4 separate regions of the Homo sapiens genome follow, and all the other regions are linked to region 2. Evidence: promoter capture Hi-C in 16 types of primary human blood cells and fetal thymus (Javierre and others, 2016). All regions are on one chromosome and are shown on one strand. The core of a region is centred on a gene start or on the middle of the fragment in contact, and the rest is flanking DNA. Distances in the headings are between cores, read along the strand shown. Region 1 overlaps SNX27 (sorting nexin 27). Region 2 holds the start of TUFT1 (tuftelin 1). Region 3 overlaps SNX27 (sorting nexin 27). Region 4 overlaps POGZ (pogo transposable element derived with ZNF domain).

The links. Contacts are between HindIII fragments. The CHiCAGO score rates a contact against its expected background, and 5 or more counts as called.
Region 1: a contact is called between a fragment that was not itself captured here and the fragment with the promoter of TUFT1 in region 2, in 2 of 17 cell types (M2 macrophages and erythroblasts). The highest score is 6.3, in M2 macrophages.
Region 3: a contact is called between a fragment that was not itself captured here and the fragment with the promoter of TUFT1 in region 2, in 1 of 17 cell types (M2 macrophages). The highest score is 6.0, in M2 macrophages.
Region 4: a contact is called between a fragment that was not itself captured here and the fragment with the promoter of TUFT1 in region 2, in 1 of 17 cell types (erythroblasts). The highest score is 5.1, in erythroblasts.

What each region holds. Positions count from the first base shown.
Region 1 is chr1:151,615,518-151,618,627 of GRCh38, forward strand. The region is part of intron 1 of SNX27 (sorting nexin 27); the gene reads left to right. Among named protein-coding and RNA genes, the nearest start is that of SNX27, 5.0 kb to the left of the region's middle. RefSeq lists an enhancer at 3,105-3,110. The HindIII fragment of the contact is 3,445 bases long and covers 73-3,110 here.
Region 2 is chr1:151,539,032-151,542,252 of GRCh38, forward strand. TUFT1 (tuftelin 1) reads left to right here and starts at 1,278. Exons shown (of 13, transcript NM_020127.3): 1 at 1,278-1,395. The coding sequence starts at 1,336. RefSeq lists enhancers at 23-539, 1,055-1,570, 1,571-2,085. The HindIII fragment of the contact is 3,648 bases long and covers 929-3,221 here.
Region 3 is chr1:151,641,835-151,645,047 of GRCh38, forward strand. The region is part of intron 2 of SNX27 (sorting nexin 27); the gene reads left to right. Among named protein-coding and RNA genes, the nearest start is that of SNX27, 31 kb to the left of the region's middle. The HindIII fragment of the contact is 6,315 bases long and covers 1-3,213 here.
Region 4 is chr1:151,421,915-151,424,981 of GRCh38, forward strand. POGZ (pogo transposable element derived with ZNF domain) reads right to left here. Exons shown (of 19, transcript NM_015100.4): 8 at 3,041-3,067; 9 at 2,035-2,372; 10 at 1,483-1,637. Among named protein-coding and RNA genes, the nearest start is that of PSMB4, 24 kb to the left of the region's middle. The HindIII fragment of the contact is 2,697 bases long and covers 245-2,941 here.

The sequences.
Region 1 (3,110 bases), core at 545-3,044, 77 kb after region 2:
TTTTAGGCAATACTCCTTAGAGCTTTTGTCTGTCCTCCAAGTTCTTAAAGTTTACCTCTGTTGTCCCAGGAAAGCTTTGCATGTTGCTGAAGAGCCAGGTGGGGTCAGAATTAGGGATAGGTGGATTATCATTGTGTGGATATAGTTTGTATCAAGTCATAGGTGAATGTATGGACCTTGATAATTGCTATTTAAGACTTTTCCCTATTTTAGATTCTTCTATTGTGTTTACAAATTGTTTTTGTAACAATTTTCGTATTTTTCAGTTGTTTGGACAACTGACAGTGGTGTGAAAGAACAGAGTAACTTTGAAATTTAAGGGCATACAAACTTGGACACAAGTAAGAGCTTCAGTTTCTTTGTGTTTCTTTTAAAGTCGGCTTACCAAGGCTCTGTCCTAATCTTTAGTCCTGAAACTAAATTGGAGCCCATATGGTTCAGTTTGCCTTTTCTCCTTTCAAAACTGTCTAGATTCTAACAGGGCTTGGTACTGCAGTATGAACAAGCCCTCTGGGCTCTAAATTTTACTGCAGATGGAAAGTTTTTTTGACTAGCAAAGCTGGTTTCCACCTTGTAATTTTTCCCAGTGTAACATATACTGAGTGTTTTCCCTTTGATGTGTATGTACCTGGAGGCTAATGAGTAAAGAATGCTTTCAACAAACAGAACCAAAATAAATATGTCTTTGCACTAATTATATAGTATGTGAAGTAACATTTGACTTCAGGTTAATTTTCTTAAGGTTAAAGTAGTTCCAAGGACTCTTGATTGATTTCTCGAGAGACGCTGCTGGAAGGTTTTAGTGTGTGGTGGATATGGATATAAAACTGTCTGTATTTTTGAAGGATTAGTTTAAGCATGGACCACTAAGATTGGCTTGCAAGCATTCAAAATCATGATATATTTATGCTAGTCAGTATATATGCTTTCCTCTTTGATAGCCACCAGATAATAGACTCATCAACTTTCCCTCATTAAAGTCATAAGATAAAATAAAACTGTGTATATCAATTTGTTTTTTGAAAGTCAGTTTTTTAACTTCATTTTATGTGAGAGTTTGAAAATGAATTAAAGAGGCTGGTGCCACAAGAAGTATTTTTATGAGTTAAGTGTGAGTCATGTAACACAGACTAGGTACCGTCTCAAAAGCCGCTTTCTCAATTGCAACTGAATTCTATTTGACTGATATTTTCTAGGTAGATTTTGGTAATGTTTGAAATAATGAAATCATGGTTATTGATCAAAGGAAATTTGTTTGGCAGCGGTTCTCAGGCTTTAGGGTACATGAGAAGCACTTGGGTGTGCTTATCTAAAGTACAGATTCTCAGGCTCACCTTTTAAGGGTTATGATTCAGTAGATCTTTCATAGGGCCTAGAAATCTTTATTTTTTTACTCCTTTGCCAGGTGTGGGTAATGCAACCCACATACTCAGTTACATGCCCAGGGTGATGCAGTAGGTTGTAGGCCTTGGATTCTCAGTTCATTTTATCTTCATGATTATATTGAGAGTAATGAGCTAAGGTTATACCAACAAATAGTGAATTGTTAGGCTCTCGAATTCCAACCTAAGTGGAAAATCAGTTAAATACTAACTGTTCTATCTGATCGTCTATACTTTATTTATTGGATCTTGCTAAGCTCTTGAAATAAAGATGGATGGTTAAGAGGTAGCACAAGTTAATATTAATAGTTATAATAATCATTTTACTGCTTTGCAGCGTGTATAGTGTGTTATAGTTTGTAGTTTTATTTATTTATTTATTTATTTATTTATTTAGAGACAGCGTTTCACTCTTGTTGCCCAGGCTGGAGTGCAGTGGTGCGATCTCGGCTCACTGCAACCTCCGCCTCCCGGGTTCAAGCAATTCCCCTGCCTCAGCTTCCCAAGCAGCTGGGATTACAGGCATGTGCCACCACGCCCATCTAATTTTTGTATTTTTAGTAGAGACGGGGTTTCTCCATGTTGGTCAGGCCAGGCTGGTCTCAAACTCCCCACCTCAGGTGATCAGCCCGCCTCGGCCTCCCAAAGTGCTGGGATTACAGGCATGAGCCACTGCGCCCAGTCAGTCTGTAGTGTTTTTACATCTGATCTTCACACAGTCCTGTGAGATAGGAAGATTATAAGCTCATCAAGGGCAGGGACTACATCAAATACTATGTATTTGTTGTATCCCTAGCCAAATGTCTGGTGGCCCATGGAAAGTATTCTTCAGTAAATACTTGCCAAATGAATATATGAGTATTATCCCTATTTTATAAGACAGGAAATGGAAACTGAGTGTTGTACCAATGAATGGCAACCAGAATTAAATCCAGATCTTTGGATTCTAGATCTTGAATATTTTCTCTTTTTAGAGCTGTTTTTTTTTTTTTTTTTTTTTTTAAAGAGATAGGAGTCTCACTATGTTGCCCAGGCTGTACTTGAATTCTGGGCTCAAGTGATCCTCCCACCTCAGCCTTCCGAGTAGCTGGCACTACAGGCATGCACTACCACACCTGGCTAATTTTTTTGTACTTTTTTTTTTTTTTTGTAGAGATGGGGTTGCCATGTTGCCCAGTGTGGTCTTGAACCCCTGGCCTCAAGTGATCTGCCCACTTTGGCCTCCTAAACCGCTGGCATTGCAGGCTTGAGCACCTGGCTGCTTAAAATTCAGTTACATTCATATAAACGTCGATAGTGGTTGAACTTTGGTTCTACTATTGTGAAATGTAACTATTTTATATCTTTATTTACTCACTATTACCCATTGTTAAATTGGATGAGAGACAGGGGACTAAAGCAGGCATTCTTTGCCTTTATTATTGCTATCTTTACCCTGTTGGTTATCAGTGAAGACAGCAGAACAATCATTTTTAAATTCCTTTTAATTTCACAGGTAGTTGAGGTTGCAAACAAATAAAACTAAATTTGAAAATAGCATTACCTTCCCCTCAGAAATCACTTCCACAGATTGCTGTAACCAGGAAAATATATTTTATTAGTAGCATAACAATTTGTCTGGGTCTTTTAACTTATTGTGAAGAACAGTTCTTTTTCCATCCACCACTGACCAGTTTTTTTCAGATGAGGGCCTGTTACCATGCTCTCAAAGATAATTATTTTTCTAGG
Region 2 (3,221 bases), core at 28-2,527:
TCTCCTGCCTCAGCCTCCTGAGTAGCTGGGATTACAGGCGCGTGCCTCCACACCCAGCTAATTTTTGTATTTTTAGTAGAGATGGCGTTTCACTGTGTTGGTCAGGCTGGTCTCAAACTCCTGACCTTGTGATCCGCCCACCTCGGCCTCCCAAAGTGGTGGGATTACAGGCATAAGCCACTGCGCCTGGCCAGCAGTAAATGCCTTTTTGAGGGTTAGAGTAGAACAGACCAGAACTGGGTTTTATTCCCTTGGGTCATAGTGATAACCCCAGCATTCACTTCCCAGGTAGAAAAATCCTCATTCATTCCTAACTGACATAGGACCCAGTCCCTAACTGGGAGGTAGGGACATTTCTGCTGTTCCTGCCCTAGTGTTGCCTTGAAGAGGGAGCTGGCCCTTCACTAGAGCCTATTGCCAGGTATAGGAGTACTATCCCTTCAGGAGTGGGTCAGACCTCCTCCTAAAGTATTCTGTCTGCTGTCTCTGTGGACCACAGCCAAGTGAAGAAGCCATCTGCCAAGAGCAGCTGGGCGGGGACGAAGCTCCAGGGTCCTGCTTGGCCAACCCTCTCTTCTAGGCCCTCAAGATCCCAGCCTAGGCTTGGGGAGAAAATGCAACTGGAAAAGTCAAGGCTCATCCTTTCTCACGAACACAAATTCCTTTTAAGGCAATGTGTCCCGCCTCTCCCAACTATATAAGGGCAGCGTCAGTAAAAGAGCTTCTGCAAAACAAGCCCCACCCAGAGCCTAAGCTGACTGGGCCTCCTGGGCCTCTTGCCAAGGAAGTGCACCTGCCAGACTGGCTTAGGCCAGTCTGAGTGAGCTGGACCTTGGTGCCTGCCTTTCTGCGGTGGAGGAAAGGTTTACTCAGCTCCACAAAGCCTACAGGTGGCTTACGTATAGGGAGAGGAGCATGTATGGAAGGAAGCTTTTGCAGGTTCCAACTCCTCATCCACTAGGAGCAGGCAGGGTGATTCCCTCTGACCAACACTGATCTTGGAAAGATGGAAAGCGACAAGATTAATGAAGAATGTGCAACCACATACTCCAGATAAAGCTGTTCAGTTAAAGCAGCCCCATGTCGCTCCCAAGCCCCACCTTTGTGTAAATCTATGCGAGCACCGATGGGGCATGTCCCAGACCCATTGGCTCCGCCCACCTCACCTCCTCGCCTATCGTTAGTTCTCTGCGAAACCGCGAACTGGGGGCGCGGCCTATCTTCAGCCCCGCCCCTGATGGGCCTATACAAGGGGGCGGTTCCGCGCGCGCCCGCCCAGTTGGAGCCAGACAGCGGGGTGGACAAGTGGCGTGTGTGCTGCGACCCCGAGGGAAGATGAACGGGACGCGGAACTGGTGTACCCTGGTGGACGTGCACCCAGAGGACCAGGCGGCGGTAAGAAAAAGCGCTCTCGCTGTCTTCTCCGTTTTGTATTCCCGGTTTCTAAGTCCGCCCCTTCCGTGCCCCGCGCCGTGTTGGCTGACATCACCTGGTGCCCGGCTCGCGCGGTCAGCCCTGCGCGGCGCTTCTCTCTTTTTATTCTTTTGCCTGCGACGGGCAGTGGGAGTCGCGGGGTGAAGACTCCTTTGAGGCTGGAGGGTTCGGGGCGTCCCTGCCCTTTGGTAGGACACTGCGGCTCCTGCCTGGGACTCGGCGCCGGCGAGCCCGTGCTTGGGCCGCGGGTCTCAGGCGTCTTTTGGGCAGCCACATTGGGTCATAAGAGAATGAGCTCAAGCGACTGGGTCCCTGAGCGCCTTTGGACGTTGTGTCCTGCCGAGGAGGCTTAGGCTTTCCCGTGGGTCGAGGGTCCTGGTGACCTCCGAGGCCCTCCAAAGAATTTCATCATGGTGCTTTGGATGATCAGTAACAAGAAAAATGGTAGAGTAAATTACAGGGCTTGGACTGGAGGGCGGGGGGCAAGTAGGGGACGGTAGGACTCAAACTATTCCGAGATTGGCTAGGGACTCTACCTTTCGCTAAGGGATAGGGCTTTCCGCCCGGGGGTCACCTCTTGTCTTGGATTTCTCCTTCTTCCCCCTTGTAGTTCTCTTGTTTTCCTCCCTCTATCTGCCTGCCGATAGCTTCCTGGGACGGTGTGTTAGTTTTGCTTCCGTCTCCAGCCGCCAGGCCCTGGGATAGTGGAGGAAGGGGATGCAGAACCCGGGCCGAGAAGGGGAGGGAAGTGACCCAAGCGAAGGCTTCTGGACGGGGAGAGGGTTGCGGAGAAAGGGGGCGTTCTCCAGTGCAGGCTGGTCTACCCCTCTCTCCTCTTTCTCTGGCTCCCAGTCCCAGTTCTCCCCACCCTAGCTGACCATATGGTTTTTCCTCTCCAGAGGCTGAGGAGGGTAATTTGTGGCTGAGTGTTTCTAGGCTCTTTTGGGGAACTTAACCCAGATTAGGTGTGTACTATTTCATCAATTTCCAAGCTATTGTGGGTGGGAGTGAAATGAAAACTAAGGTGATGGGGAACTTGTGTATCATCCCCCCTCCCACATCTGACTCCCTTACTCTCTGCCTGCCTCATCCTGCTCTTGAGGTAGAGCTAACCCAACTGCAGCTAGATTATGGCTCTTCTTCAAACTCATTTCAGGTTTAGAATACAGATGGTCATTTAGTTCTTTTCCCAGTCCCCTCTCCATTTCTGCCTGGGCTATGAGTGTTTTTGCCACATTAAAATACAGATGTTGCTATTGGCCAACCCCAGTTGCCCAAACCCCATTCTTCTGTAGCCTGCCACATCCCCAGCTATGAGACTCTGAAGAGATGGAAGAAATCTATCCATTATGTGTCAGCCACAAGTCCTACTCCCTGCTCTTTGTTTTTAAGCGACGAGTGTCTTGCTATGTTGCCGGAGCTGCAGTACAGTGGCTCTTCACGGGTGCAATCATAGCACACCACAGCCTTGAACTCCTGGCCTCAATCCTTCTGCCTCAGCCTCCTGAGTAGCTGGGACTTCAGATGCACACCACCTATAGCTTCTCTTCCATGCTCTTGCTCTCTCTTTTGGAATAGTTGAGGGAAAAGGGTATGAGATAAATAAAGGAGAGGGATGTTTGGGCTGCTTTTTGCTTGCTTGCTATATAGAAAAGAGATCCGGAAAGAAGTCTAAGACCAAGTTGGCACTGGCAGTGTTAATGAATCATTAACCTCTACTATTTTTTTTCTTTCTTCCTTTCTTTTCTTTTCTCTTTTCTTTTCTCTTTTTTTGAGACAGGGCCTTG
Region 3 (3,213 bases), core at 31-2,530, 100 kb after region 2:
GATATATATGAGATATATATATCAGCTATAGATATATATGATATATATATCAGCTATAGATATATATGAGATATATATATCAGCTATAGATATATATGAGATATATATATCAGCTATAGATATATATGAGATATATATATATCAGATATAGATATATATGAGATATATATATCAGATATAGATATATATGAGATATATATATATCAGATATATATGATATATTTTCCAGTAGCTTGAAAAAGGACTTAGATAAGCCAGGCGCAGTGGTTCATGCCTGTAATCCCAGCACTTTGGGAAGCTGAGGTGGGCAGATCACCTGAGGTCGGTGGATCACTTGAGGTCAGGAGCTCGAGACCAGGCTGGCCAATATGGTGAAACCCCGTCTCTACTAAAAATACAAAAATTAGCCGGGCGTGGTGGCAGGAGCCTGTAATCCCAGCTACTTGGGAGGCTGAGGCAGAAAAATCACTTGAACCCGGGAGGCTGACCTTGCAGTGAGCCGAGATTGTGCCATTGCACTCCAGCCTGGGCAACATCTCAAAAAAGAAAAAAAAAAAGGGACTTAGATGTTTTGTAAATATTTGAGTTTGCGACTTGCCTTTTCATTTTTTAAAACAGTATCTTTCAAGGAACAGAAATTTTAAATTTTGATATAGTCTCGTTTATCAGTTTTTAAATTTATGGATAATGCTTTTTTGTGTTCTAAGAAATCTACCTAACCCAAGGACACCAATCTTTTATGTTTTCTTACAGTTTTATAGTTTCAGCTATCTTTTTTTGTAAGAACTTTATTATTATTTATTTATTTATTATTAGTTTTTTGAGATGGAGTCTTGCTCTGTCACCCAGGCTGGAGTGCAGTGGCGCAATCTTGGCTCACTGCAAGCTCCGCCTCCATGGTTCACGCCATTCTCCTGCCTCAGTCTCCCGAGTAGCTGGGACTACAAGTGTCTGCCACCATGTCCGGCTAATTTTTTTGTATTTTTTAGTAGAGACGGGGTTTCACTGTGTTAGCCAGGATGGTCTCGATCTCCTGACCTTGTGGTCCACCCGCCTCGGCCTCCCAAAGTGCTGGGACTACAGGCGTGAGCCACCGCGCCCTGCCTATTTTTTATTTTTGTTTTATTTTATTTTATTTTATTTTTTGAGACGGAATTTCACTCTTGTTGCCCAGGTTGGAGTGCAACGGCGTGATCTTGGCTCACTGTAACCTCTGCCTCCTGGGTTCAAGTGATTCTTCTGCCTCAGCCTCCTAGAGTAGCTGGGATTACAGGCATGTGCCACCACACCCGGCCAATTTTGTATTTTTAGTAGAGACAGGGTTTCTCCATGTTGGTCAGGCTGGTCTGGAACTCCTGACCTCAAGTGATCCGCCCGCCTCGGCCTCCCAAAGTACTGGGATTACAGGCATGAGCAACCACGCCTGGCCTTTTATTTATTTATTTATTTATTTATTTATTTATTTATTTATTTATTTTGAGACGGAGTCTCCCTCTGTCACCCAGGCTGGAATGCAGTGGTGCGATCTCGGCTCACTGCAACCTCGGCCTCCCGGGTTCAAGCAATTCTCCTGCCTCAGCCTCCCCAGCAGCTGGGACTACAGGCACATAGCACTGCGTCCAGCTAATTTATGTGTTTTTAGTAGAGATGGGGTTTCACCATGTTGGCCAGGCTGGTCTTGAACTCCTGACCTCATGATCCGCCTGCCTCGGCCTCCCAAAGTGCTGAGATTACAGGTGTGAGCCACTGCACCCAGCCATAAGAACTTTATTAAGATATGATTTATATACCATACGTTCACCTAAAGTGCACAATTTAGGGTTTTTTTTATTTTTTTATTTTTTAGACAGAGTTTCGCTCTTGTTGCTCAGGCTAGAGTGCAATAGTGCAATCTCGGCTCACCGCAACGTCTGCCTCCTGGGTTCAAGCAATTCTCCTGCCTCAGCCTCCCGAGTAGTTGTGATTACAGGCATGTGCCAGCACGCTCGGCTAATTTTGTATTTTTAATAGAGATAGGGTTTCTCCATGTTGGTCAGGCTGGTCTTGAACTCCTGACCTCAGGAAATCTGCCTGCCTTGGCCTCCCAAGGTGCTGAGATTACAGGCTTGAGCCACTGCGCCTGGCCAATTTAGTTTTTAGTGTGTTCACAGAGGTTGCAGTGAGCCCAGATCACACCACTGCACTCTAGTTTGGGCAACAAAGTGAGACTTCGTCTCAAAAAAAAAATAGATAAATAAAAGTACAATTAGTAATTTCATTCCTTTTCTCAAGTTCCCAAGGTTTTAGGTAATTCCCAAAAGGTCTCAACATCCAGTCTGCTCTACTTTTAGGATGTGACCTTGATTTCAACTTCTTACATGTCTTATGACTCAAAGTTAGCACTTTTGAAGCATAAAACAAATTTGTAACATTTTCATCACCTCAAAAAGAATCTCATTCCTTGTAGCCATCATTTTCCAAACCTCCCATCCCCTCCAATTCTAGGAAAGCACTAATCTATCCTCTGTCTTATAGATTTGCGTATTCTGGACATTTCATAGAAATGGAATCATGGTTTTTTTTGTAACTGGCTTCTTTCACTCAGCATAATATTTTTGAGGCTTATTCAAGTTGTAGCATGCATCAGTACTTCATTTTAACATTCCATTATATGGATATACCACTTTTATTTATCCATTCTTCAATTGATGGACATCTGGGTTCTTTCCACTTTTGACTATTATGAATAATGCTGTTATGAGCATTTGTGTACACGTTTTTGTGTAGATATGTGTTTTCATTTTTCTTGGATATATACCTAGGAATGGAACTGCTGGGTCATATGGTAACTCTTTAGGTTTAACCTTTTGAGGAACTGCCAAACTGTTTTCCGAAGTGGCTGTACCATAGTTTTTACTCTTACGTTTAGGTCTGTGATCCATTTTGAGGGATTTATTTATTTATTTATTTAGTATATTGTGATATAAAGGTCAAGGTTTTTTTGTTTGTTTGTTTTTGAGTGTCAGCTAGGCTGGAGTGCAGTGGCGCAATATTGGCCCACTGCAGCCTCTGCCTCCCGGGTTCAAGCGATTCTCCTGCCTCAGCCCTCCTGAGTAGCTGGGATTACAGGCATGCGCTACCACACCTGGCTAATTTTTGTATTTTTAGTAGAGATGAGGTTTTGCCATGTTGGCCAGGCTGGTCTCAAACTCCTGACCTCAGGTAATCCACCCG
Region 4 (3,067 bases), core at 343-2,842, 120 kb before region 2:
GCGAATTTTTGTATTTTTAGTAGAGATGTGGTTTTGCCATGTTGGCCAGACTGGTCTCCCCTGGCCTCAACTGATCCACCCACCTAAGCCTCCCAAAGTGCTGGGATTACAGGTGTGAGCCACCACACCCAGTCCTTATTGTTTAATTCATTTTTAGTTAAGGATTTTTACTTGTAGCAAATGCATCCAGATAATATGCATATGTCTTCTATGCTTTTGATCATGCTGTTTTCAATCACCTAAAAGCTTTTCTTACTACTCTCCATCCATCTAAACCTTTCTTAAATTTAAGCACGACTTTCTTGGAAACCTAGCCACAAGGATTTTTTCCCTTCTCTGAAGTATTTCACCTATCAATGATATCTTAAAATGTCTATGTTTATAATATACTATCTTGTTCTCACATTTTCCTATATTTACATAATTTTTGTCTTTACAACAAAACTGGAAATCCCGTAAAGGACATGAGAAGTATTCTCAATACTGGGCTTAAATCCTCACTATGTATCCCCAGTAGAGGTGTATTTAGAGGTGTACGCTCATAAGCAAATGACTCAATTTCTTTGAGCTTATGTTCAGCCTACATCTATCTATAAAATGTACAGTGTAGAAAAACATTCCAGCTTACCTTATATTTCACTGAAAGCACTGTCTTAATGATAAAGTACTTCATAATATTATCTTTTTTTTTTTGGAGATGGAGTTTTGCTCTTGTTGCCCAGACTGGAGTGCAATGGCATGATCTCAGCTCACTGCAACCTCCGCCTCCCGGGTTCAAGCGATTCTCCTGTCTCAGCCTCCCGAGTAGCTGGGATTACAGGTGCCCGCCACCACACCCAGCTAATTTTTGCATTTTTAGTAGAGATGGGGCTTCGCCATGTTGGCCGGGCTGGTCTCGAATTCCTGACTTCAGGTGATCTGCCTGCTTCGGCCTCCCAAAGTGTTGGGATTACAGGCGTGAGCCACCGTGCCCGGCCATATTATCTTTTATCCTACTTAATTTCTTTGAGCTTATGTCCAGCCTACATGTATAAAATATACAGTGTAGAAAACACTCCAGCTCATCTTATATTTCATTGAAAGCAATGTCTTAATGATAAAGTACTTCACAATATTATCTTTTAGCCTACATAAAACCTATCAGGGTTTAACTAAAGTGGAAGAGCAAATAGATGACTGTTCCTTCTATAAAGAGACCTAAGAAATAAATTAATTACATTTGTTTTTCTACAGTGGTTCTGAATCAACGCCCCTAACAATTCAGGATCTAACACTGAACTCAATCCATGCTTGAACAAAATAAAAGTCAGGCTTGTAAAAAAAAACAAGGTGAATGAAGTAAAGAACTGGCTACAAATATGAAAAGTACTTCCTCTACACTGTTACCCACATGTAAATAAATATAATGGGCTCCCCCCAGCGCCATTCAATGAGTGAACAGCAAGGTATATTCCCCTTGAGTTTAAGAGTTTCCAAACTTACTAGTAGATTCATAGGGACTATGAACATTTTCCAAGTGGCACTGAAGCTGGAAGGGAGTGGAAAACTGGCGGTAACAGTGCTGGCAGATAGTGTGACCATCTACCTCACCGTTCTGCTGATCGAGTTCTACGTGGTGTTTCATATGGTTCATGAATCTGTAATAAAGCACAAAGAGAAAGTACAGAAAACATAAAAAATTGGTAGCCTTTTAGAAATATAATGGTAAAATCACAGAACAAACATTATCTGCTCCCCTCCATTCCCCAGACTTCCTGTTTGGGATATCCTTTTCTGAGCCCAGAAAGATAATGAGTTCTTGAAACTAAGAGAGTTCTGGGAAAGGAGACATACTGCTTTCCCTTACTCGATCCAGTTACCTTTTGTTTATTACCACAATATCTCCTTCTATAGTCCTAGTTATTGATTTAATGATAACCCCAGCAAGACTGCATAGTAGTTAGGTCCATTCTCCAAAGAGAAAGACTTAAAATATATAAGAAAATGTAAGTCTTCTCTTGTTCAAGGTAACTTCCAAGGCTCTTAAACACTTACCGAATATTGTTTTTTAGCCTTTTGGTACAATGTGGGCATCGGAAAGATGTGGCGACCTTAGGGAAATTTGTGAGCTGGGCTACTTTGCCACCATCCCGTCCATAGTAGAAGTCATCTACAAGCATAATGAGTTTGGTCTGGACGGCATCGCCCACGTTCTCATTTGGTTCTGGTACTTTGGTAGGCGGTGACAGAGCAGGAATAGGTGTAGAAGAGGGTGTGGAAGCAACAGGAGCTGTTTTCTCAGGGGATGGGGGCTTTGCTGCTGATGGGACACTGGGTTCTGAATCCAGGGACTTTCCTTTCTTCTGGTATTCAACCATTTCTGGGCAACAGTACTATAAAGAAAGACATCTGATCATTCTGGTTATCCTGGGGGCTAGAATGTGCTAACTCCTTAACTTCACTACCATTCCTTGTTAACGGTTTGGTTTCAGGTATTCTCATTCAGCTTTCACCCTTCAGTTTTTTTTAGCGTTTCCAAGTTTTACTCCTTTTCTAGAGTATATCCACATATGCCACCCAAGCGCTATACTTTGTATTTCTCCCTCCTGCCTGTCTTAGGTCCCTTAATCATTAGTATAACTTGGCTCTGAGCTCCCTGGCAAAGAAGAAGTTCCAACCTTTTTATCTGGACTAATACCAAAAAATGAAAAGCTAAAAAATGGAAGTAAGAGCTCCCGATTCATCCAATGACACAATTAACAAAAATGAACTGAGGCCAATATGGTTTGAGTCCTTATTATCTATAAACCTGTTCTCCTGTGTGGTTTCAAAATCTACCACACTAAGAAAGTAAGATCACATATGTTCTGATCTATTTGAGGGTCTTTAAATGTATCCCATCACATTCCAAAGTACACAGCTCTTCTAAAAACAGACCAAGAGAAACAGTAACCCTTTAAAAAGCTTCAGTCATTTTAGAGCCCCTGCTTACAAGCTTCCAATATTAATGAAGGTAAATGGCAGAAGCCACTTAAGCTGGATCACAGGTGATATCACTTACACACATGTGACCTCTCAAAGCTTCAGT